Regions from separate parts of the Homo sapiens genome. Here regions 1, 3 and 4 are each linked to region 2. The links are contacts of gene promoters, found by promoter capture Hi-C in blood cells and fetal thymus (Javierre and others, 2016). All regions are on one chromosome and are shown on one strand. Each heading gives the region's core, a stretch centred on a gene start or on the middle of the fragment in contact. The rest is flanking DNA. Distances are from core to core; before and after follow the strand shown.

Region 1 (5,924 bases), core at 2,832-5,331, 320 kb after region 2:
GAGACAGGATCTCACTCTGTTGCCCAGGCTGGCTTGCAGTGGTACAGCCATAGCTCACTGCAGCCTTGATCTCCTGGGCTCAAGCAGATTACTGTAGATAGGACATGCCTGTTAATACACATCTAGTATTTTAAATTGACCTTTTTAATTTGGCCTCATTAAAAATATTGTCTGGCCCATAGCAAAATTTTAGATGACCTGAGATGGGGAGGTATCCTAAATATTACTTGTGTTAGATATGCTTTTGGTAACTTCTTTCTCTTTCTCTCTTTTAAATAGGGAAGTATGGAACACGAATTTGCCCTGCTTTTTTCTTAAGCATACCATATACTTGTCTTCCTGTCTGGGCTGGTTTCAGAATCTATAATCAGCCATCAGAAAATTATAATTACCCCTCAAAGGTGATTTTATTAAGCTTTGATGTACCCTGTTCTCAAACTCATAGGGTTCTTTCGCATCCACTGGCCACTGAATTGAACCATGCCTCTGTGGACTGGAGCATTTGGGGCATCCAAACAGTGCGACTGTTTTGATTATGTAGCATTAGCTTACGTATTAATTAATGTAGGCAAGAAGGTCTGTTTCTGTCTGAATACATCTGCTTCTGTTGGCAAGGCCATACTTTGGGGAGCTTCCTGTGCCAGTGGTCACACTGGCTCTAACTATCAGATTCTGCATTAGTGTGTCAAGTGAAGTCCATAGTGTGTGGTTCATCTAGGATTGTTAATGGCCTGGACGTTGAACACCTGGGTTCCTCTGTGACACCTATGCATTTACTACCCCAAGAGGACACTGGAGGGATACTGCTCCTCAAGGTAGTCTACACAGCCATACAATCTTGACTCCAGAGATCCAGGCCCATAGAGACTGGCTACAGGACATCTGAGACACCTCCCTTCCATTCACAGCCAAGGTAGTCAAGGTGAAACAGCACTGGCCTGGCAGATACTCTGTTAAGGCCTTCATTTCTAAGCTAGTTTCTCTCTGTTTCTTTTACTTTTCTAGGTATTAGATCATTTAGCAAGATCTTTTAAGCAAAACTGATATATGAAAATATGAATTACTAGAGATAATCAGAATACGACTATTCATTTTACAAAAGATTTTCAGTATAATTCATTAAAATACATTTTAATTGACAAATACTTCATTTGTAAACATTTAGACACCTTCTATGTAAACTCAGGCTGGCACACTGACAGCTGGTACTAACTTCCCTCTGAGGAAAGAGGTGGCTGTTAAAAAGAAAAAGCAAATAGTCAGTCCACCCTTAGTCCCAGCTCCACTGCTTTTAAAGGTTCCATGTCAGTGTGTCAACAGAGTAGGTATGCCATGAGGCATGCAGAATTACTTATCATTATTTTTAATGTGAAAACACAGTGACAGCCAGGGCCAAGCAGGCATTGTCATACAGTGCTGACAGAAACATAAATTCAGAATTGCTCTGCAAAGCAATTTGGCAATGTTATCAACCTTAATAATTCTGGAACCCAATAATTCTGCTCCTAGAGCCCTATCTTCAGGAAATCATCACACAGATACCACCAAAGATTTACAAAGTTGTTCATCATTACATTAAGTATAACAGTGAAAAATGCCTAAATATCCAACAGTGGGAGAATGGCTAAAGTGTGGTGTTTCCATATGGTATTCAGTTTGAGAAAATTTTTAAACATGTGGGAAAGTGCTTATAATATAGGCAGATGTTGAGAGCAAAAAGAACAAATACAGAATTGTTTATATACAGGAATAATTTTATATATAAAATTGTTCCTAATTTTGTGAAAAATGTAGATATATGTGTGTGTATATATGTATGTTGTGTGTATGTAACTATATCTATTTACATGTATTACTGGAAAAGTATACCAACGGTTAATAGTGGTGTGGCAGGTTTATGGTTTACCTTTAAAATTTATTATCATTAAAATGTCATTTCAAGAAAAAAAGTGGACTCATAGAGCTACAAGAGCCCTTCGAGAGATCATTTAGCCCAAATTCTTCATTTCACAGATAAGGAAATTGAGACTTGAGGAAGGAAATGATTTTCCTAAAGTTCCATGGCCAGTGATTTATGATATAAATTGTGCATCTTCAAAATTCTCTTATCCATCATCATGACATTTAATGTTTCAGATTTCAGATTCTTCTTTGGCACTTTGGGCCTGCTCTTTAGGTACAAACTCTATTTTAGGTTATTCAAGAAGCCCAAGCGAAAGACCTGCTGAGAAGACCATTTGATTTAATGTTGGTTGTGTGTCTCCTCCTGGCAACTGGATTTTGCCTGTTCAGAGGTTTGGTAAGCATAACAGATCATAATAACGTAACATTGTGATACTACTCACATTTCCAAATGGAAAAAAACTTAGAAATATGTTTTTGTTTTTCCATCAGACTTCTTAGCAAACTAACAAACCATTCCTCCCATCAAAGCCTGGAGCCCTGGACCTGCTTCCTGCTGCTCCCAACCCCAGCCTCCTGCTGTCACCTCCTCCTGTCCTTAGATCAAGCTCTACTCAGAAGCATCTTCCTCCCCGTTTTAGGGCATCTAAAAAATCAGCCATCAGAGTCTCTCTTTTTTATTCTTTTGATGTTTCTGATTTAAATGTAAATATCTTTGGTAAGGATGGCACCCTAGGACTGCAACACAACTGTGGCACAGAGCATCCCTGTGTTCTCAGGAGTAGGGGCAATGGGGTTGAGGAAGGCGTACCAGTTCAACAATTCACGTGTATGTAGGGTCATGGGAATGTCTCACTGGTAAGAGTAGTGTTGAGTAAATTCATCTCACGCCTGGAGTCTTTGTATTGATGTGACTGAAATACATTAAGGGCACATGGGCATTTCATGTTTTCTATTTTCTCTTTATTAATATTTTACTGCAGAGGTTAGGAAAAAGACTCACAGGCTTTGTAGTTAGAATCCTGGCCACTTACTAGCTGTGTGGCCTTGGAAAAACTACTTAACCTCTTGGACTCTGTTTTCCTCTCTGTAAAATAACACTACCTACCTTAACAGTATTGTTTTGGAGATTAAATAATGTACATCAAACACTTGGTAGAGGCTCTTATACATAGTAAATGATTACTGTTAGGATTTTTATTGATCAGTGATCCTTCACAATGCCCCAATTTGATGATTTCTTCTTAGTAGAAATGAATTTGGGAAGTTTAGAATTATATTGTTAATTATATTCAGCTTCAGTGACAATTTCTATTCGAAGCCTGTTGGCGCGCGTAACAGTTGGACAGTAGAGTGGCAAGTGTAAGCCCATGCAGGTGACTTTTATCATTTCAGGGTCTTGGGCTACTGGGGGCCTGTGCAGCAGGCTGGGTTCAGGGTGAGAAGCTGTTTTAAGAGTTATCTTTATCTGTGAAATGTCAAGAAACTTTCTGGAGGAGAGCTGGCTAACAGGAGGAGGGGCATGGGGAAGAGAAGTAAAGAAGGCAAGGCCATAGCTTTGCTTAGACCACAGGGCCACTGAAACTGTTCTTTGGTTAGTTTGTTGTAATTCTTAAAGTTCAAACAACAAAAAATAGTGGGCCCCACCTGTATTCTTGCACGGCCATATCCCCTTCCCTGTGCACGAGAAAAATGTGTGCATGTGTGGGGGTGCATGCAAGGTGGGTAGGGCTTTTGGATTGGGGCCATTTTTACCAACTCTGTCATTGGCCTGTGTTCATATATGCCATCTAGGTGGGACAACATTTATGGCCAAAGACATGAGGAATGGTGCCTGAGGGGAGGAAGGTGACTCAGAGGGGACCTAGTAAAGTGCCAAAAAGACTTTCCAGCAAGAGGACCCTGCTTTCAAATCATCTTTTACTGCCTCCAAAGGCCATATACGCTATGATGCACTGGAGACAGGAAGGTGCTATTTTCAAATCTTGCAATGCATAGTAAGATGAATTTGGTGTAGAAATATACTTTTCTTCCTGTAGGGAATAGGGGGCTAGTTATTTCCAAGAAAAGTGAAACTCATAATTTAAAGCAAGCTGTGCTTTGGCTAGCCAAACCTAGATACTTAAACTCTGAATATCTGAAAAATACCCAAGAATAGGGCATTAGTTTCCATTTCCTGCACCATAATTAACCTTTGCTTAGTCTCCTTAGAACAAATCTGCAAAATATTTCCATCATTGATGAGCCTCTACAATGCATACGTTTTGTTAAACAGCAAAGCAGCTTGTGACTAAACCTGGCACATTTAGCCTTATCAGCAAACCTAAGAACCAGATGTGATTGTATTTTTATAATGAGTTTATTTTTGTCCTTAGATTGCTTTGGATTGCCCATCTGAGCTCTGCCGATTATATACGCAATTTCAAGAGCCCTATCTAAAGGATCCTGCTGCTTATCCTAAAATTCAGGTCAAGTAGTTATGAAGCCTAAGATTTTTCTAAAATTAATTTTCTTTTTAAAAAATGGGTCCCAGCTGGGTGCGGTGGCTCACGCCTGTAATCCCAGCACTTTGGGAGGCCGAGGCAGGTTGATCACGAGGTCAGGAGTTTGAAACCAGCCTGGCCAGCATGGTGAAACCCCATCTCTACTGAAAAAATACAAAAAACTAGCCGGGCATGGTGGCACATGCCTGTAATCCCAGCTACTCAGGAGGCTGAGGCAGGAGAATTGCTTGAACCCGGGAGGTGGAGGTTGCAGTGAGCCGAGATTGCGCCACTGCACTCCAGCCTGAGTGACAGAGTGAGACTCCACCTAAAAAAATAAATAAATAAAAATAAAAGTAAAAAAAAAAAAAGAGTCCCATATAGGAAATAGGAATTAATATTTTCAAAGATGAAAATGTTTACTTTTTTGTACTTTTTAGTCAGGCCAAGTTAACTGCCAATTTGCTGATGATGTTATTTCTCTGTTCAATACAGATGCTGGCATATATGTTCTATTCTGTTCCTTACTTTGTGACTGCACTGTATGGCTTAGTGGTTCCTGGATGTTCCTGGATGCCTGACATCACATTGATACATGCTGGAGGTCTGGCTCAGGTACTAAGAATATTCTGTTGAGAAGGTTTACTTGTGGTCTAGGTGTCAATTGTTGAATATATGAAAAACTTCTCTGCTCAGTGTTTTAGACTAGGAGATAGCTATTAGACATGTCACCTTTTGTTTTGCAGTTCTTCAGAAGACATTTCTGCAAGTACATTTTATTTCAATCTCACAATAACTATATGGTAGATGTGCCATCCAGTTACACAGATGAGGAAGTTATCTGTGGTCCAGTGAAGTTAAATGATTTGCCCAAGGTTACACACCCAGCATGTGGCATTGTTGTTTTATTGGACTGTTTCACAATCTCTGAATACCATGGCTACTAAAAAAGGATTGAGAGCTGTCACCTTCAAAATGTCCATCCAAATTTAAGACTTCAGAATTCCACTACGCTATGCTATACAGAACCAGGGAAACTGGTTTAAAAAATGTTCTGGGCCTGTCATTTCATTCCTTTTCCGCTGGCACCTTGCCAAATATTTGGCCTAGAGTAGGTGTTCAGTGAATGCTTACTGCGTTTAACTGAAAATGAAATTATCTATGGAGAACTTCACACATAACATAAAGCACATTTTTACAAGATAATTAGCAAAACAAATCAATCTTCTGAACAAGGAAGAAAATTAATTTTTCTTACTAGAAATAAAACAAATGAACTTATCATTTAAAAACATTAGCTTCATCTTGTTCTTTTCAAGCAGTTATAAGAATGAGGTTCATCTAGAAACTGTAGGCTTGTACAGTCAATTATATGCATGGTATAATAATCATGATCGTAAGACATACTAGAATTCACACGGTTGAAAAATATAGTATTTAAGGGGTCAATGCATTAAATCCTTTCAGTTTGAGGTAATTCTTAATTATAAAATTAGCATAGTAGTATCGAAAAAGTTGATGTAGCATCCAGAAGTAATG
Region 2 (6,428 bases), core at 3,723-6,222:
GCTTCCTTGTGCACAAGCTAAAATAAACTTTCTCTATGCTGCTGTGTCTGGTGATCTCTCTTGATTCCTATCCTGGGAGATTACAAGAACCCAGGATGCTGGAAACATTTTGATCCAAGAATAGGAGGTTCTGGATCACAGTGATGGAACCATGTCCTGCTCTTAACCCAGAGGGGCCCTTAGTCATTTCATCTGGTGCTCCGTACCAACTATCACTCCCCCAGTTAATCGTGGCTACACCCTGCCTTCGAAATCCCTCACATTTCCCTCCATGGGCTCACCCTGGCTCTTTCTGACAGCAAGACAAAAACACAAGAACCAACCAGCCTTCTCTGATGGTAGACGGGTTGGGGAGGTGGGATGTGGAAGTGTGACTACCTGGACTCAGCCCTGGTGAGCCCCTGGGGACCTTCTCTCTTCTCCTCTTCACTCTGAAGTGTCCACGGGATGCTGTTTTTCTAGGTACTGTATCAGCACCACACAGAGAGGTCGACTTCCAGCAGTCATTAGGTGACAAAGATGCTGCTATCCTAACCCAATGCCATGTATGTTATTGGTTTCAGAGATCTGGATCCTCATAAGGAAACCTTACTCCTGAGACTCTAAGACTTGGGAACATCACTCTTGGAGTTCTCCCACTCTCCAATGCTCCAAAACTCTTCACATGGAAGATAGTGGTAAATATCACTTCAGTAACACCTGCTGAGGCTGAGATACCATGACCATGCAGGATTAAAGCACACAAGGCACCAGCTCCACCATGTCTTGGTCCATGCCACCTGGGACCACAAACAGGATCAGGTCCACCCCTAGATGGAGAGAAGGATGAGTGGAGGTAGGTTTCCAGAGGCAGCATCGCAAAGCCAGTGGTTTCCAGGCACCAGGGCCAGTGTTTTGCCTCCACAGCCAGTGTTTTGCCTTCATATGATTTATGAAGACTCCAGAATTGAGTTTTCTTTATGGGGAGGTTACTACTAAGAAACCTGTCTACCATTAGGCTCTGGCTGGGGCAGTCCTGGCTCATCCTCACTAATGCAGCCTGTACACAGGGCTGGAGAAGTGTGGCTTCAAGTGAACTAGGGCACAGCTTCTTCTCACACTGAATCTGCATCCCAGCAAAACCAGTGCTGAGCTGGACCAGCAAGTCTCCCCCTCCATACATACCAGACCCAAGGGATTGCTAGCTCCTCCTGGGTATCATGCACATTGCCTGCACTTTAGCCCATGTTTCCCTCCGATGGTTCCCAAGGTCAAAGTTCCCTTCCAGCTATGGAAACACCACTTTGCCTCCTCTCTCATCCTGAATCCCTTGTTGTAGTGGATGATTCTCAACAAAGTAATCAGAGCCTTCTGCCCTGAGAGGCCCTGAATCCTGCCTTCACACTCCTGTATGTCAGATTGCCCAGCTAATCAGAATTACCCACATTGCATAGAAATAATGTCTTACCATTAACAGCTGGGTTGAGCTCTTACTTGGCATCATGGGGGAGGAAGAGTAGGAGAATGAAGCTGAGCACAAGTACCTCTGGAAATAGAACCTGAGAGGATGGGAGGGTCATGCTTCTTCTCTATGGGCCTCTTATCAGCCAGCAACAGCAGCAGCAGGTCTCCCCAGCTTAGGAGCAGTTCCTCATTTCTACTCCACCAGGTCTCCTGGTTGCTGCCTCTGCTCCTGGGGCGTTATAGATTCCACCTGGTCATGGCAGAGTTAGTGTGTTATGGGGCAACATGGAATGACCTGGAAAGTCTGCACCCATGCAGAGGTCATCTGGTGAAGCCCTAGGTCCTTCTGTGACCCTGGCTAACCTTACCACATGCATGGTCTGTGGTGTTGGGCATCATTCATTGCCCCAGCTCTGAATGTTCATGGGGTTGGTGAGGTGTGAATTCAAGAGAACAGGATTGGGCTAGGCGCTGGGGGTACAATGGATGAGACACAGTTGCTGGTGTCAAGGAGGCTCCAGACAAGTGACTAAGGGATTATTACCCCATCTGGGGCTATGCACAACTTCTCAGAGACGCTGCTTTCCCTCTTTCCTGGGACCCCAGAGTACTTCTCCTTCCTAAAGCACAGAGTCTGTGCCAAAATCCCACTATTTCCCTCTGTGGCTCGAAATCTTGCTTGAAACCCTCCTGTCTCTACAGTCTGCTGACTGCGCGCACCATGGTCCTTCCTCAGGGGTGTCCCTGCCCAGGATAGCAGCATAGCTTATACAGCATATGTTGCTTTGTTCAGGCAGAAGTGGTACATCTGCACATCGTGCATTCTGAGGGCTCCATTACTGGCAAGTCCCAACTCTCCTGGGCACCAGGGATCCCCCACCCCATGCCATAGCTCTATACTCCCCAAGCAGCCCCACCTTCCCTAGCGGTAACCCTCTGTTCCTTCTGGCCGCGCTCAGGGTCTTCCATGTGAGACTCACCCTAGGCCCTGGCTCAGACTGTCCTGCCTGCTGAGAGCTCCCACTCTTCCCTATCTCACCACTGCTTCTTAAACCCCATACTCATCCAACATGGCCCTCCATGAAGTCCACTGCATTGCTACTATCCATGAATGAGAGCATGACATCCACCCCCTCCAGCACCAAACCAGAGACCAGAAGCTCATCCTTGACACCCCCAATCTAATTAATAACTAATTCATGCTGATTCTGACTCTACCTCTTGAATCTCTAAGTAATATCCCTTTTCCTGTCCCCTCTCCCTGCTCCCCAAGATCACTGCCCTCTGGATTCAGAGAGTCCTGTGTTTGCATTGTTTCTGCCACATCCTGGAAGTATGACTTCAGGAAAATCATCTCTCTAGGCCTAACTTTAATGGACTATAAAACAGCTCTATTAACAGTGTCTACCTCATAAGGTTGGCATTTAGATGAAATAACATAATGTACTTTATGCATAGTACATAGCTTAAAGTAAGTCCTCAGTAAGTGTTAGCTGCTGTTATTGTTGTTGTTCTTACTATCATTATCATGATTCCTACCTTAGTATCTCCCACCTGGGCTAGAAGCCTTCTACCTAGTCACTCATGGAGAGTGACCACAGCAGTGTGGAATCATCCATGGCTACTGTGGGAATATTTGTCCCTTGAAAACAGCCGATGATGAAAGAAGGCACCAAGCAGAACAGCCTCATAACCACGCACAGACATCAGCTATGAGATCATTCCTCTCCCAGGGGGCCCAGGCAGAGATATGGTATTCTAGGGATGGAGGTCCCTTGGAGAGCATCTAATTCAATTTCCTGATTTTATTCAGCAGGTCATGGATGTTTAAAAAAAATTCCTGATTTTAGGATGGCAAAACTGAGATCTTGTGAGGATAAAGGACTTGCTTATAGCCAATTTTCTTTTACAAAAATGTATCTGGGCTACTCTGTATTTAGCCCTGTGCTTGAATCCAAGCTTTTCACCTGACACACAACCAGTCAGGTGAAGAGCTTGGATTCAAACCCAGGTTTCCATTAAATCACACCATCTACAGACAGAGGAGCAGTTCACTAAAATAATGCTTACATTCCCATGTGCTACCCAAAGGGAAATAGCCAGGATTCTGTATGACCAATAAATCATCATGAGAAATTATTTCAACCAGAAGCTGGAATGTGAAACACCAAGTTGAACTGTCAGAAGACTGGAAAACACTTAGTGCAAATACAGATAAGAACACATGCTTTCAAGCTGGCACTTGCCCTTCGAACACACAACACAAAGTGGTCTCAACACAAACTGGCTCAGTGTCAAAGTAGGAATTTTGCAACACACCCTACAGTTAACAGTCACTTTTCCCCTCAACACCTAGACTCTTTCTTAACAAAATCAGGATTTGGGGAGAAAGGAAAGTTGACAATAAACTGTCATTTTATAAATGGTGAAACTAAAGCTTAGAGAAGTAAAGCAATTAGTCATAGTCCATTATGAATGTCTTTGCTGGATACCCTTTCCTCTATGCCAAGGGAAGCAGTTAAAAAAAATAAAAAAGATGTTTGTCTAAGGCTTATATGGGAGGTGTATCCCTGTGCATTACTTAGAAAAGTCCCCCAATAATTTTTTTTTTTTTTTTTTTTTAGAGACAGGTTCTTGCTATGTTGCCCAGACTGGTCTTGAACTCCTGGGCTCATGCAATCTGCCACCTCACTTGGCTTGTTTATTAACCTTTTATGGATCATGGGCATATCTACTGAATCTACTGAAACCTGTGAATTCTCTTCCCAGAAGTGATTCCATAAGGGCAGGAACATAACTTTGCCTATAATTTTAGCTCTTCCATGCAGCCCTTGGCAATTCCTGAGCCACAGCAGTGAAAGAAAGCTTGCCTTAAAGTGTTACAGTGATATGAAATGATTCAAATCAGCTTTGCAGACACTGCCCGAACCTGAAAACTTTCTATAGGAGGAGGCTGTATGCATAACAAGTGAAAAATAATTACGATGCTGTTTTTTAGTATTTGAATCAATGCATGAAGTTATTATTTTTCAGCATGTACACACAGATTAAATAAAATGTATTTACAACACAATAGTATAGCCAGATGATATTCAACATCTATATTTCCAAACTGTTCTACCAAATGGTTCTAACTAATGGGTCCCAGCACTACAGATATCCTAAAGACACATTATAAGAATCACCAGCCCCTGTCTGCCTTCATCAGAGCCTCTCACATCCTGTCCCAACATCATGTTCAGTTAATGCGAATTCTTGCTTTAAGAAGGCACAGAAAACATTTACACTATTTATTGTAATTTAAACATCTGCAATTTACCATGATATCTCTTCCCACCTACAGGAAAGATATTGCATTAATATTGCAGCATTGAGTTTCTAATAATACAATTTGCATTGGAAGAATATGACTACCCCAAAACTTGCCTGCTAAGCGTCCATAAATGCTTCCTTTAACTCAGAGGACCTGGAGTTCTGCTAGAAAATTGAATCTGTGTTCAGCAGGCTTTCCTTCCTAGTGACCTCTGCATGCCCCACAGGCTACCCCTGCCTATTTTACACCAGAGTTCTGCAAGTGGGGCACCAAAGCTGGATGGTAACATGAGCTGGCTGCAGCCACAAATAGCAACAGGCCTGCCATGAGTGAAGGTCCAAATATAGACCTGCTGTGGCTGAGTTGCCACTTCTTACTACTCAAGTGTCACCAGGAGAGGTCACATGCCGTGCTCTGAGTTACTTTCTGTGCTGTGAGGGGTTTTAGACTTGTGGCTCTACCATGGGTCTCAGATGGCTGGTCATGTGGAGAGGGCTGGGGACTGTCACGGCAAGACCAGGAAGAAGATTCCTTTTTTTTTTTTTTAAGTGAATGAGTTTCTAAAATTATATGCAAAATTATGTCTGTGTCCTTATAGAATCACTTCCGGGAAGAGAACTCACAGGTTTCAATAGATTCTCAGAGGTGCTCATGAACCATACAAGGTTAAAAAACATTTTGGGGGCACTTTTCTAATCAAAGCACAGGACACACTTCCCATATAAGCCTTAAGCAAACATTATTATTTTTTTTTTTTACTTGCCATGGTATGGCATAGAAATGGGACTATCCAGCCAATACATTCCTTATGGACTATGATTGACTATTTCTCTAAGCTTTAGTTTAATAATTTATAAAATGACAATTTAGTGTTAATGTTCTTTTCTTCCAAAATTCTGACTCTGTTAAGAAGTTGAAAGAGTCTAGGTGTTGAGGAAAAAAGTGAGTGTTAACTGTGGGTGTGTTGCAAAATTCCTACTTTGATGCTGAGCCCACAGACCAGCATAACAGTATAATCTCTCTCTCCTCTCTCTCTCTCACATGCACGCACGCACACACACACACACACACACACAGTGTAATAGTCAGAGTTGTCCAGAGAAACAGAACCAATAGAATGTATACATATATGGAAACAGATTTATCATAAGGAATTGACTCATGTAATTATGAAGACCAAAAAGTCCCAAGATCTGCAGTTAGTAAGCGGAAGATCCAGGAGAGCCAATGGTGTGGTTCTAGTCCAAAGGCCAGCAGGCTCAAGACCCTGGAGAGCCAATGTTTCCATTTGAGTTGGAAGGCAGGAAAAAAACCCATATTCCCACTTGAAGGCAGTTAGGCAGGAAGAATTCCCTCTTATTCAAGCTTTTGTTCTATTCAGACCTTCAATCGATTGGATGAGGCCCACTCACATGAGGGAGGGCAACCAGTTTTACTCAGTCTACTAACTCAAAGGTTAATCTCATCCAGAAACACCATCACACACACACACCCAGAATAATGTCTGACTAAACACCTGGTGACCCAATCAAGTTGACACATTAAAATTAACCATCATACATATATATACATATGCTATAGACAGTTTATATTCCCCTAAAATTCCCATGTTGAAACCAAATCCCCAATGTGATGGTATTTGGAAATGTGGCCTTTGGGAGGTGATTAGGTC
Region 3 (5,986 bases), core at 3,331-5,830, 390 kb after region 2:
TACTCTGGGTACACTGCCTACAGGGTAGCCTATAGTGTAGCTGCACTCTGCATGGGGCAGTACCTGTGCTGCTGCTGCTATACGCTGCCACGTTAATAAGAGTTGCTGACTCACACCACCACCACCCCACCCATGAATTCTTTCCTGGGCAAAGCCAAGAACCCTCCCAAGCTAAGCCCCAATTTGGGGGCTCACCTGTCCTGCATCAATATGAACAAGGAATTCAACTTCTGGCTACCTACTCCAAAGAACAGAATGTAGGGTCTTTAAGAGATAGTTGTACATTCATGTTCATAACAGCATCATTCACAATAACCAAAAGGTGAAAAAAACTCAGGTATCCATCAGTGGATGAATAAACAAAATGTTTTACATATACACAATGGGATGTTATTCAGTCTCAAAAAGGAAGAAAATTTGGACATACATGAGCCTCAAGGATATTATGCTAAGTGAAATAAGCCAGTCACAAAAAAACACATACCGTATAATTCCATCTGTATGAGGTACCCAGAGTAGCCCACTCATAGAGACACAAAGTGGAGAGGTGATTGCCAGGGACTAGGAGGCAGGGAATGTAGAGTTATTTTTTAATGGGTATAGTTTGTTTTGCAAGATGAAAAGAGTTCTGGAGATAGAGAGTGGTGATGGTTACAAAACAATGTACTTAATATTACATAAACTATACACTTAAAATGATTATTAAGATGGTATAAATTACATTCTATGTATTTTTACAATTAAAATTTTTTTTTAATTACAATGAGCACATAAAAAGCTTATTCCAAGTCTGGTTTTCACCTTTTCTTTACCTAAAATAAATTCAGGGTTTCTGCCTAATTGTCAAAGTGGTTAGTGTGAATTCCTTATCTCCTTTCACTTCCTCCTGGCATCCTATGGAGATGGGTGCAGACGGCAATGAATTTTAGTGCAGCTCCCTTCCACTTACTTGCTCTGTAACTGAGCAAGTCAGTTGGTAAAAGAGATTAATGCATTTTAGCTTTCTCATCCCTTCGAAAACAACACTGAAAATCATCTTAAATCTTATGTCTCAGAAGGTACTATCATTTAAATTTTCATTAAAGACTTTGAAATTGCCTGCAGGGAAGGAAAAAGCAATAGAACAAAATGTAAAGGAGGGCTCACTCAGGATGCAGTGTTATCTCTTTCTAATGGTAAGACTATATAGTTGTATTACAAATAATGTAGACAGTTCCAAAAACTACATTTCAATATCGTATGACAAAAAAAGCTGAAACCCAGTCTTTTTGTAATAAATTGCCAATTAAAAATGTCTCCATGTATTCTCTTTTCCACGCTCTTTCTTAGTCAGTTTTGGCTCATTCTTGTTCATTTAGTCTAATTGCAAAGATAGAAAAATCCTGTCATCATGTTTCAGACAAATATTGGGCAAAAAACTTGAGGATTGTATTTGTGACTAATTGTATAACAGGTTATTTTAGTTTCTGTTATGTGGAAAGTGTAAAACATTCCAACAAAGGTTTTTTAATGTAGATTTTTTTTTGCACCCATGCTGTTGATTGCTAAATGTAATAGTCTGATCATGATACTGAATAAATGTGTCTTTTTAAAAAAATAAAAGAAAAATATTGTCATCGAGATCTACATATATTGCACTTGTATTCCTCTATGTACATGTTTCTGTTCCTTAATCTATCTCAAGCTCTTTAATGTTAAAATCATGTCTTATTAATTTTTATAATGCTAAGTCTATCACAGTTACTAACCCAGAAGAGATACTCAATAAACACCTAATGAGATTATAATGGTAGAACATTAATGTTACCCAATTCACGTAGTTCTACCTTCACATGGAAATAACTGAAAATTTAAAAAGTAAAAGTTTCAATGACAGAAATTAAGAATGTTATATGCTTAAATGCTGAAAACCAGGTTCTTACAAAATTTGGCAAAGAATGAAAAAAGGGAAAAAAATCTCCTAGGAATGGTTAAAAAAATTAAGTTACATATACTTATATCTTAAAACAAAACAGAAAAGTTTTGAGTAAAATTCTGGATAAAGATGTATTAGTGAAATAAAAGCAAAAATGAAAACAGGTTACAAAACTAATATCCAACGAAGTACTATAACTTATGTGCTAGAAAGTATGAAATAGCAGATCACTATATTTTGACTCCATCCTGAAGTTACAAGTTATACACATTTATGTGCCAAATAAAGCCCTGACATTTATTAAATAAACGGTCAAAAAAAGGGACAGATATGTAGAAATATAATAGATATGTTAGATTTATATACCTCTTCATTTTGGAGAGAGTAGTTGACAAAAAATAAACATTAAGAATTTTAAAAAATATATTAGTAAATATCAATATATTTATATTTGTCCATTATATTTATTGACTTATTTATTAAGTCAATATACTTATTGACTCATTTATTAAGTCAATATACTTATTGACTCCTAAAGAAGCTTTCTTTTCAGGAATACAAAAACCATTTTTTAAAAGTTGATCACATATGAAAAGAACACTAAATGAATTAAAATAGTTAAAAAGGATACATAATCTGACTACAAGATAACCATATTAAAAAACAATAAAGCATTACATACAAACTCTTTAGCCAGTTATAATTCCTAAAATTCTCTCCTAAATATCTCTTGGGCCAACTCAGAAATGAAAATCACAAAACCTATTTTGAAAATGACTATAAAACACCAATTATTCAAATCTACATCATGAAGCCAAATATGACCTGAGGAAAACTAGCTTTAAAAGTTTTCATTTTCAAAAAGATTTCAAAAAAATTAAATAAGACTTTATTTCATTAAGTTTGAAATAGAAGAAAAGAAAAATATACTTGGGGAAAGGTAGTGAAGATGAGATCAGAAATTAATGATTTAGAGAAAAAAATAGAATTGATTAACAAAAAAGGGGGAAACAAAAATCCAAGAGGATTAGAGAAGGTTAGAGAGAGATGATTTTCATTTATAAGCAAAAGATAGGAAGGTGCAGTTAAAGCCTGTTGGCATCTATTTTCTCTATGAAGTATGAAGGTAAAACAATTTGCTGAAAATGAGGGGGAAAGGCTGGAAGAGAATAGTAAATGTATCTACTAACATCTGAGGAAGATGTACAAGGAGCTGACCTAGGGCATGCCCACTCTTGTTAAGCTGCACTACTTTTGTCATTTGCTTTTACAATATAAAAATAAGGGACACATTTGTTCTGGGTTACCTGATCCTTTGTAGTTAAATAAATCTTTATCCCAGGAGTGTACTCAAAACGAAGAATGGAGACCATGATATTTCATAACTCTACCAAAGGCTTTGTCCTTCCCCTGACATCACACATAGCATAAGATAGGGTCAGTGCTGAGCTGGAGAACAGCCAGAGTTCTTGAACACCTGGCATATCATAAAATTTAATCTAATCTTATTTCTTTTACTTCAAAATATTTCCATTTATAATAGTATAGTGGGTCTGTTTCTAATAACATTTTACATATTTTATGTGAGTCAGTGAGCCAGATGTAAGACATAAAACTGTGCTTACAGTAACTTTTCAGAAATGTTTCTTTTAAAAAATTGAAGAATGCCTTCCTATCATCAATACCAGGTTCTCTCTACTCAGATTGCTATATCTCACAGTAGCAAGGCAATCTCTTTTTGATAGGACAAAATAATTAAAAAGGAAATACAAAACCATTAGAAACATGTTAATCGCAAAAACTTTACATCCACTTTAAAGGGTACCACAAACCTGCCCTATCTTCAAGTTTCTGAACTTCACAAAAGCTCATCATCTTCAGTCATAGCTTGATACCTCCACAGTCTAGTCCCACAAACCAGGAAAACTCCACAGCCTCAATATCATCAGCCACGGAACACTAGTTTGTCAAACACTGTATATAACTCGGTAGTCAGCAAACGTGTGGAACTTACTACCTTTAAGAAGTCAATTATAGGCCGGGCACGGTGGCTCACGCCTGTAATCCCAGCACTTTGGGAGTTCGAGACCAGCCTGCCCAACATGGCAAAACCCCATCTCTACTAAACATCTAAAAAATTAGCCGGGTGTGGTGGTGTGCGCCTGTAATCCCAGCTAATTGGGAGGCTGAGGCAGGAGAACCTGGGGGCGGCGGGGAGGGGGTGATGAGGAGGGTGGTAGAGCTTGCAGTGAGCCAAGAACACACTACTGCACTCCAGCCTGGGGTGACAGAGAGAGACTCCGTCTCAAAAAAAAAAAAAAAAAAAAGAAGCCAATTAATTATATATATAGTTGTTGATACATTTGCAGTTGAAAGATTAAAAGGAAGATGAGAATTAAAATCTATATAACTAACCTTTTGGGATCAGGGGACATATTGGCCTGGATAGTTCAATGACCTAATACACTATTGCTTTAATTTATGTTCGTGTGACCTTCATGTAAGACTGTGGCTACAGCAGAATAAAAAGCTCAGGACTGTTAACAAATCATCCTCTCAAAAATCCAACTTCTGTTCTATATAAACGCATACAACTCACAGAGATTACTTTCCCTTTGGCCTACTGACCAGACCAGTGTTTTTCAAACTGTAGGTAATGAAACTCATTTAGCAGGTTGCAACCTGACTTTACATAAAATGAAATATAAAAATATCAGAATGTATCACATATAGTAAGTACAACTTGAAAATTTTTTTGTTATAGGTGCATCTTAGTCCATTTTGGGTTGCTGTAACAGAATAAATGAGGCTGGGTAATTTATAAAGAAAACAGGCTTTATTTAGCTCATGGTTCTGCAGGCTGGAAAGTATAAGCATGGTACCAGCATCTGCTCAGCTTCTGGTAAGGGCCACGTGCTAACTCAAAACATGGCAAAGAAGGTCAAAGGGAAAGTGGACACGTGAAAAGCAACCAAACAGGAGGAAGAAACTTGCTTTATAACTCACTCTTGCAAGAACTAATCTATTCTCAGAGAACTAATCTAGTCTCCAGAGAGGGAGAACTCACTACCACAGGACCAGCAACAGTACCCAAACACCTCTCGCTAGAACCCACCTCCCAACACCACCACACTGGGGATAAAATTTCAACATGAGTTTTGGAGGGGACAAACGGATCATATAAAAATCTCAGCAGTGTGTGTGTGCATGCATGTGCACGTACTGGGATGGGAATTAATATTTATTTCTCACTGTAGGTTACAGTCAAAAAACCTGAAAGCCGTTAGACTGCAATCAATCAGCAACAACAACTCATTTCCAAAGTCTAAATATTTTTTTCAAAATTATTGACTTCATCATCATGTAGTAGTCCAGGGAAGGAGATAAGAGAAGTTATAACTTGTTTTAAATTAGTTGGTTTCATTTGGAACATCAAATAGTGGTCTAGAGGGAATTTTCAATCCATTCAACATATGGTAACTCTAAAAGCATTAACTGAGAATTTATACTACTACTCCCTCTGAACAAGCATTTCCTCCAAGATCAAACATGTTATTAATAATAAAGTACTACTTCAGTGTCAAAGGAAAAGGAAATAGAGATCTGAAGTTGAGTTTATTTTCTGACCTGTCTACATCATAAAAAATCCTTAATCTTCTGTGAAACTCATTTTTATATGTGCTAACCACTACTGAAACTATCACTTAAAACCACTCTCATCTCGTATTTTGCAATAGAAACTGAGAAGTTATTACTATGTGATCAGAAATTTTCCAGTCCCCATACAGGCAACCTGGCAGCTACCACTGACTCCCCTACACTGACACCTCTACTTCTGGGTAGCTGTATAGACTCTATATTCAGACTTAGAGAATCTATTCAGAATATGAGTTTCAATGATCAAATGAGAAGAATAGTTTATTCTTAGACCCTTTTTGTATGTTAATGTGGTCCAGTTTATCTTGTCCCCAAATCCTGAAGCTCTGTGGAACTTCCAGAAATGGCCTATCACAAGCCAGGTGCAGGGGCTCACACCTGTAATCCCAGCACTTTGGGAGGCCGAGGCGGGTG
Region 4 (5,907 bases), core at 597-3,096, 350 kb after region 2:
AAAGGTGAATAATTTTCACAATCTCAGAGTTCTTTCCATTGTATTTCTGAATTACCATATGAAAAAACCTAGACTTTCAATTTGTAAATCTAGGATCATGTCATTCCTCTGTTTAAAATCTTCAAGTATTGTTAGATTTGGAATAAAATCCAAATTTCTCATTATGGCCTACAAGTCTGCATAATTAGGCCTTTGCCAGCCTTTCCCCCTTGGTCATGATTCTCCAGCCACACCTTCTTTCAATACAGGAAAAACATGCTAAACTCTTCCCTGCCTCAGAGCTTTGATGCTACATTCCTTTCCCTCTGCCATATATGGCTTCTCCTCCTACTCTCTTCTTTGAGGTCTCAGCATAAACTACACGTTTTCAGAAAGCCCTGGCCACCCTATCTAAAATAGGGGACCTATTTTAGGTCCCCCTGCTCCCATTCAATTCCTTCACACCCTTTCACAATTTATTATTTACGTGATTACTGTGTGCTACCCCCACTCTCTGTTGTACTATAATTTATGTGAAGGCAGGAATGGAGTTGCTCACCGCTGTATACCTAGTCTGGTGTCTGGAATAGACTAGGTGATCAGGAAATAAAAGAACTGAATAAATAAACAGCCAAAGCACATTCTTTGAAGCAGAATGACAAGTAAAAATATATCTTTTTACAGTCATGTCACATAGTAATGTTTGGTCAGTGACAGACCACATATACGAAGCCTTGACGTGTGGTAGGCTGTACCACCTACATTTGTGTAAGTATACTCTATGTTGTTTGTACAATGACAAAATTGCCTAATGATGCATTTCTTTTTTTTTTGAGATGGAGTCTCGCTCTGTCACCCAGGCTGGAGTGCAGTGGCACGATTTTGGCTCACTGTAAGCTCCGCCTCCTGGGTTCATGCCATTCTCCCACCTCAGCCTCATGAGTAGCTGGGACTACAGGCGCCCGCCACCATGCCCAGCTAATTTTGCTTTTACATTGTTAGTAGAGATGGGGTTTCACCATGTTAGTCATGATGGTCTCGATCTCCTGACCTTGTGATCCGCCTGCCTCAGCCTCCCAAACTGCTGAGATTACAGGTGTGAGCCACCGCGCCCAGCCATGATGCATTTCTTAGAACCCCATAGTTAAGTTACATGTGATGCATTTACACATATAGTACATAGACATAGTCTTGAATTATATTGTGTTTCCTACATTTCTCAATTCTTTAGAGCTCGTCTGGAGGTTACTGTAGGAGGCAAAGCTACTCATATATCCTTAACTAAAGAACAGTCAGTCCTCCTCCAACTAAAAAGGTGGTATTTTCAGGGCCAAATCAGCCCTAAAGAGTCAATAGTCAGATTGCTCTAATATCTAAGGTTACCTGACTTCCCTCTGCTGTATTTTGTCCCTAAAGGCAGAGGCTCCATAGAATTTAGTATATTTCTATGTACCCAATAAACACATGGAAAATAATCTAAAAATGTTTAATGGATATGCATATAACATTAATAACAATGAGAAGTTTCTTAGTAACCTTTGAAGTATATGACTTTTTCCGTTTTGAGCCTGCTTTTTCATTCTTTCTTTTGCCTTTTCCATCTTCTTCTACTCTATCACCTTCTTCCTCACTGCTTGCATCTGCAGTATTTCCACCTTCTCCCTCAGTTTCTGAAGAGCTCTGTTGCTGAATTGCCTAAGAAATAATAAAATATTAGCTGATTACATTTTTGAAAAAATAGCAAAGAACAAACACTGAAAAGAACTACTCTGTTTTCATTTGAAAGGGTTCCGCTTACTCGGAAGATTTTCAAAAACAAAGGGCTGTCAAACTGAATTTTCCAATGGACACTTGATTTGAACCCTTCTGATTAAGAATTACATTTAATCCAAAATGCTACTGGAGTCAAAAAGAATTGTGACTTCAAGGTAACTATTAGTAGAAAGGACATATAAGAAAGATTTGAAAAAGCGTTAAAACCAAAGAAATGAGATATAGCAAGTGACAAGGAAGTAAACCATTACCTGGTAGCCAGTAAACTTTACTCCTGGGTTATTTTCTATTTCCCACAATCCTTCGTTAAATCCTTTCCGTTTGTTTGACTTTCCAAACTTGTCTTTGTACTCCTTATATGGAAAAAGGTCTTTGGGACCTAGAAATGCACTGCAGAGACATATTAGAAATAGAATTGACACACTGACCTTCAAAGGTAAGATATTTTAAATATCAGTATCAGTGAAGATGTCAGAGCATACTATAGCAAACAAATCTAAAGTACATATAAACCCTTCAAGTTAGGCACATATTACGAGGTGTTTCAGACACATACTTCAAGGCAGAAAAAATGGATAGCTGAGCATACAAGCCAGCCACCTGGATTGTGCTACTTTGATTTTACTTTTAAATTATCAATATCTTCATTTAAAAACTGATTTTTAGTTACATAAGTAGAATTAAATATGTCTACTTTGGCCACTTAAATCATCATCTTAAACTAAGATTTATCTATGTTAATCTTACCACAGGTAAGGGTTTTGTGAAATTCACAGTAAAAATATAAATGCTAGAATAAAAAAAAGATTTTAACTCTCTATATAGTAATTCCCCACTTAACTGTGGTTTTGCCTTCTGTGGTTTTAGTTACCCATGGTCAACTGTGGTCCAATGGAAAATGAACAATTCATAGGTTTTAAATATTACACCCCTCTGAACAGGTGATAAAATCTCACACCCACTCCATCCTGCCTGGGACATGAATCATCCCTTTGTCCAGCATATCCATCATATTTGCACTACCTTCCCACTAGTTACTTAATAGCTATCTCTGTTATCAGATGGAAAAATCATAGTATATATAGGTTTCATACTATCCACGGTTTTAGGCATCCACTGGAGGTCTTGGAATGTATCCCCTACAGATAAAGGGGGCACTACTGTACCACGTTAGTATATTTATTCACTATTATTTCTTTCTTTTTTTTTCAGATAGAGTTTTGCTCTTGTTGCCCAGGCTGGAGTGCAATGGTATGATCTCGGTTTACTGCAACCTCCATCTCCCGGGTTCAAGGGATTCTCCTGCCTCAGCCTTCCAAGTAGGGGATTACAGGCATGCTCCATCACATCTGACTAATTTTGTATTTTTAGTAGAGACGGGGTTTCGCCACATTGGTCAGGCTGGTCTCGAACTCCTGACTTCAGGTGATCCACCTGCCTCGGCCTCCCAAAGTGTTGGGATTACAGGCATAAGCCACCGTGCCCAGCCTATTATTTCTATAAATTAAAAAATCATTTTAGTGTTTAATGAGGCACTAAGAAAAAAATTAGAAGTGACAAAGCAGATAGACTTTTATCCAATTTAAACCACATCCTAAATTAATCACAACCAAGAAAAAAAAAGAAGTTAGAACAAATTCTGAGCCTGGCTAATAGATCAGAGTCTTTAGCATTAGGCCACAGTTCTGGCTGACACCCCTAGAGCTTACTTCTCAAACTGAGATTCACACATTCCTTCATTCAACAAACATTGATTGAACATTTGTTAATACAATGTGCCAGGCACTATTCCAGAGGAGCTACAGGGAACAAAGAGACAAACATCTCTGTTTTCTTGGAGCACATGTTCTAGTGGCAGGGGTGGGGGTTTGGACAATAAAAAGATAAAATATATAGTATGTGTGCTAAAAAAAATAAAGCAGAGAAGGATGGGAAGAATAGGAGATGGATTTTATAATTATAGATATACAGATCAAGGAAGGCAAAGGGAATAGCTAAGTAAAGAACAAAGAAAGTGAAGGAATAACTCATGCAGTTACCTGGAGAAGAAAAGAACAAGTTGAAGAAAGAGCAAGTACAAGGTCCCTCAGGTGGGAGAGGAAGAGTGCCTCATAAGTTTGAGAAACAGAAGAGGTCAGTGTGGCTAGAGTGAAATGAGTGAAGGACGACTGGTGTGAGACAGGTTAACAGAGTAGGGGCACAGATTATTTAGGGCCTTGAAGGCCACTATAAAGGCTTTGAGTGAGATGGGAAGCCATTAAAGGTTCTGAGAAGAGAAGTGGCAATTTATGTCTTAATAGGATAACTTTGGCTGCTGTACTGAAAACAGACTGAAGACTTAGTTACTACAGTAGAAGCAGGGAGACTAATTAGAAGGCTTCTGAAGTAATGATGGTGACTTGAACCAGGGTGTAAGCAGTACTGTTGGTAAGAAGTGGTCAGATCCTGAATTCATTCTCAAGAAAGAGCATCAAGATTTGTTGATGGGCTGCATATGGCATATGTGAGAAAGGGTAGAGGAGTTGAGGATATCTCTAAGGTTTTTTTTTTTTTTGAGACGGAGTCTCACTTTGTCGCCAGGCTGGAGTGCACTGGCACGATCTCGGCTCACTGCAACTTCCGACTCCCTGGTTCAAGCGATTCTTCTGCCTCAGCCTCCTGAGGACCTGGGATTATAGGCACATGCCACCATACCCAGTTAATTTTTGTATTTTTGATAGAGACGGGGTTTCACCATGTTGGCCAGGATGGTTTTGATCTCCTGACCTTGTGATCCGCCCACCTCAGCCTCCCAAAGTGCTGGGATTACAGCCATGAGCCACCACACCTGGCCATCTCCAAGGTTTTGGACTGAGAAATAAGAAGGAGTTGGTATTTACCGAAATGGAAATATTTTGGGGGGGGAACAATATTTGGGGGCAAAAAACTCAGTTTTGAATGCTACATTTAAAATCCAGTTTAGACATCCAAGTGGAGATGTCAGGTAGCTGGAGAGAGGACTCTGGAGTAGAGGGGAAATGTGTAAGCTGGAGATGTAAATTTGGAAATTATCAGTAAAGAGAAGATACTGAAAGCTTTCAGACGAGAGGTTAACAGTTTACTATTGATCTCTGTAAATTCCATTTTCTGCCTGGGTCTCAGGGTTGATCCCTCGCATTGTGCAGCTGATCAAAAACTTCAAGTTCATTAAAACTCCTGGGTAAGCTTTCTGACCCCAGAGCGGTTTAAGAAGCACCAAACTTTTAAGAAGCACCAACCTTTTCCTTATTGTTCACCTTTAATTGCTCAGTCAGCATGATTCTACCTCATTGAATCCAGAAATAATTTATTACATTACTGGACATCTTAATAAAAAAAAGTCAAAGTCTTGCTTGATAAACTGAACACAATAAATGGACTTTGTGTATGGCAACTTCACTTTTAGAAGAATTTGTCGTGAATTATTAGACTCTAGCTTTTGACCTTCCCCAGTCTTTGACTCTATGCTTAAGAAATAACTGTGGGCTAAGCTGCCTGGTATTCACATCAGCTACTTGATGCTAATCAGGGCTTGCCTATACTTATTTTTTTGGGCAGGGGAGAAAGGGTCTCTCACTGTAGCTTTGGCTTCCAGGCTCAAGTGATCCTCCCACCTCAGCCTCCTGAGTAGCTAGGACTACAGCCACCATGCCTGGCTAATGTTATTTTTTTGTAGAGACGGGATCTCACTATATTGCCCAGGCTAGTCTCGAACTCCTGAGCTAAAGTGATCCTCCAGCCTTGGCCTCCCAAAGTGCTGGTATTACAGGCATGAACCACTGCACTCAGCTGCCTATACTGTAATAATGCCAGAAGAGTCAGGGCTAATGGTCATTATTTTTTGATGAAAGAGTTAACAATTTTTGCCCTCTTTATTTTTATCTTGTCCCACTTTTGGATGTATGAGATGGACGTCTTCCTGCTACAGGAAGCATTCTTTTATGAATAAATGATACATTTTTACTAGCATTCCGCAGGAATGACTTTAACTGACAACTGGCCATGTTAGCTACTGCCGGCAAGAGGGAGCCTGAATGAACTGTTCTAAAACAAGTTGTAATTTTTTGATAAACAACCCTGTTTTTTTCTGGATTATAGATAATTGTGTAAATCAAATCCCCTCTCAATTGGTTAATT

Evidence for each region. Contacts are between HindIII fragments. The CHiCAGO score rates a contact against its expected background, and 5 or more counts as called.
Region 1: a fragment that was not itself captured here is called in contact with the fragment with the promoter of FSD2 in region 2 in 1 of 17 cell types (neutrophils); the score reaches 6.0 in neutrophils.
Region 3: a contact is called between a fragment that was not itself captured here and the fragment with the promoter of FSD2 in region 2, in 3 of 17 cell types (fetal thymus, megakaryocytes and erythroblasts). The highest score is 6.2, in fetal thymus.
Region 4: a fragment that was not itself captured here is called in contact with the fragment with the promoter of FSD2 in region 2 in 1 of 17 cell types (neutrophils); the score reaches 5.3 in neutrophils.

Annotation. Positions count from the first base shown.
Region 1 is chr15:83,122,478-83,128,401 of GRCh38, forward strand. TM6SF1 (transmembrane 6 superfamily member 1) reads left to right here. Exons shown (of 10, transcript NM_023003.5): 6 at 280-401; 7 at 2,195-2,299; 8 at 4,278-4,370; 9 at 4,881-5,000. HDGFL3 (HDGF like 3) reads right to left here. Exons shown (of 6, transcript NM_016073.4): 6 at 5,276-5,924. Among named protein-coding and RNA genes, the nearest start is that of TM6SF1, 18 kb to the left of the region's middle. The HindIII fragment of the contact is 7,337 bases long and covers 414-5,924 here.
Region 2 is chr15:82,801,097-82,807,524 of GRCh38, forward strand. It overlaps FSD2 (fibronectin type III and SPRY domain containing 2), which reads right to left and starts at 4,973. Exons shown (of 13, transcript NM_001007122.4): 1 at 4,870-4,973. RefSeq lists an enhancer at 5,257-5,356. The HindIII fragment of the contact is 1,284 bases long and covers 4,307-5,590 here.
Region 3 is chr15:83,193,833-83,199,818 of GRCh38, forward strand. The region is part of intron 1 of HDGFL3 (HDGF like 3); the gene reads right to left. Among named protein-coding and RNA genes, the nearest start is that of HDGFL3, 11 kb to the right of the region's middle. The HindIII fragment of the contact is 4,252 bases long and covers 2,455-5,986 here.
Region 4 is chr15:83,155,900-83,161,806 of GRCh38, forward strand. It overlaps HDGFL3 (HDGF like 3), which reads right to left. Exons shown (of 6, transcript NM_016073.4): 3 at 2,004-2,142; 4 at 1,516-1,674. Among named protein-coding and RNA genes, the nearest start is that of HDGFL3, 49 kb to the right of the region's middle. RefSeq lists an enhancer at 2,131-3,330. The HindIII fragment of the contact is 5,956 bases long and covers 1-4,824 here.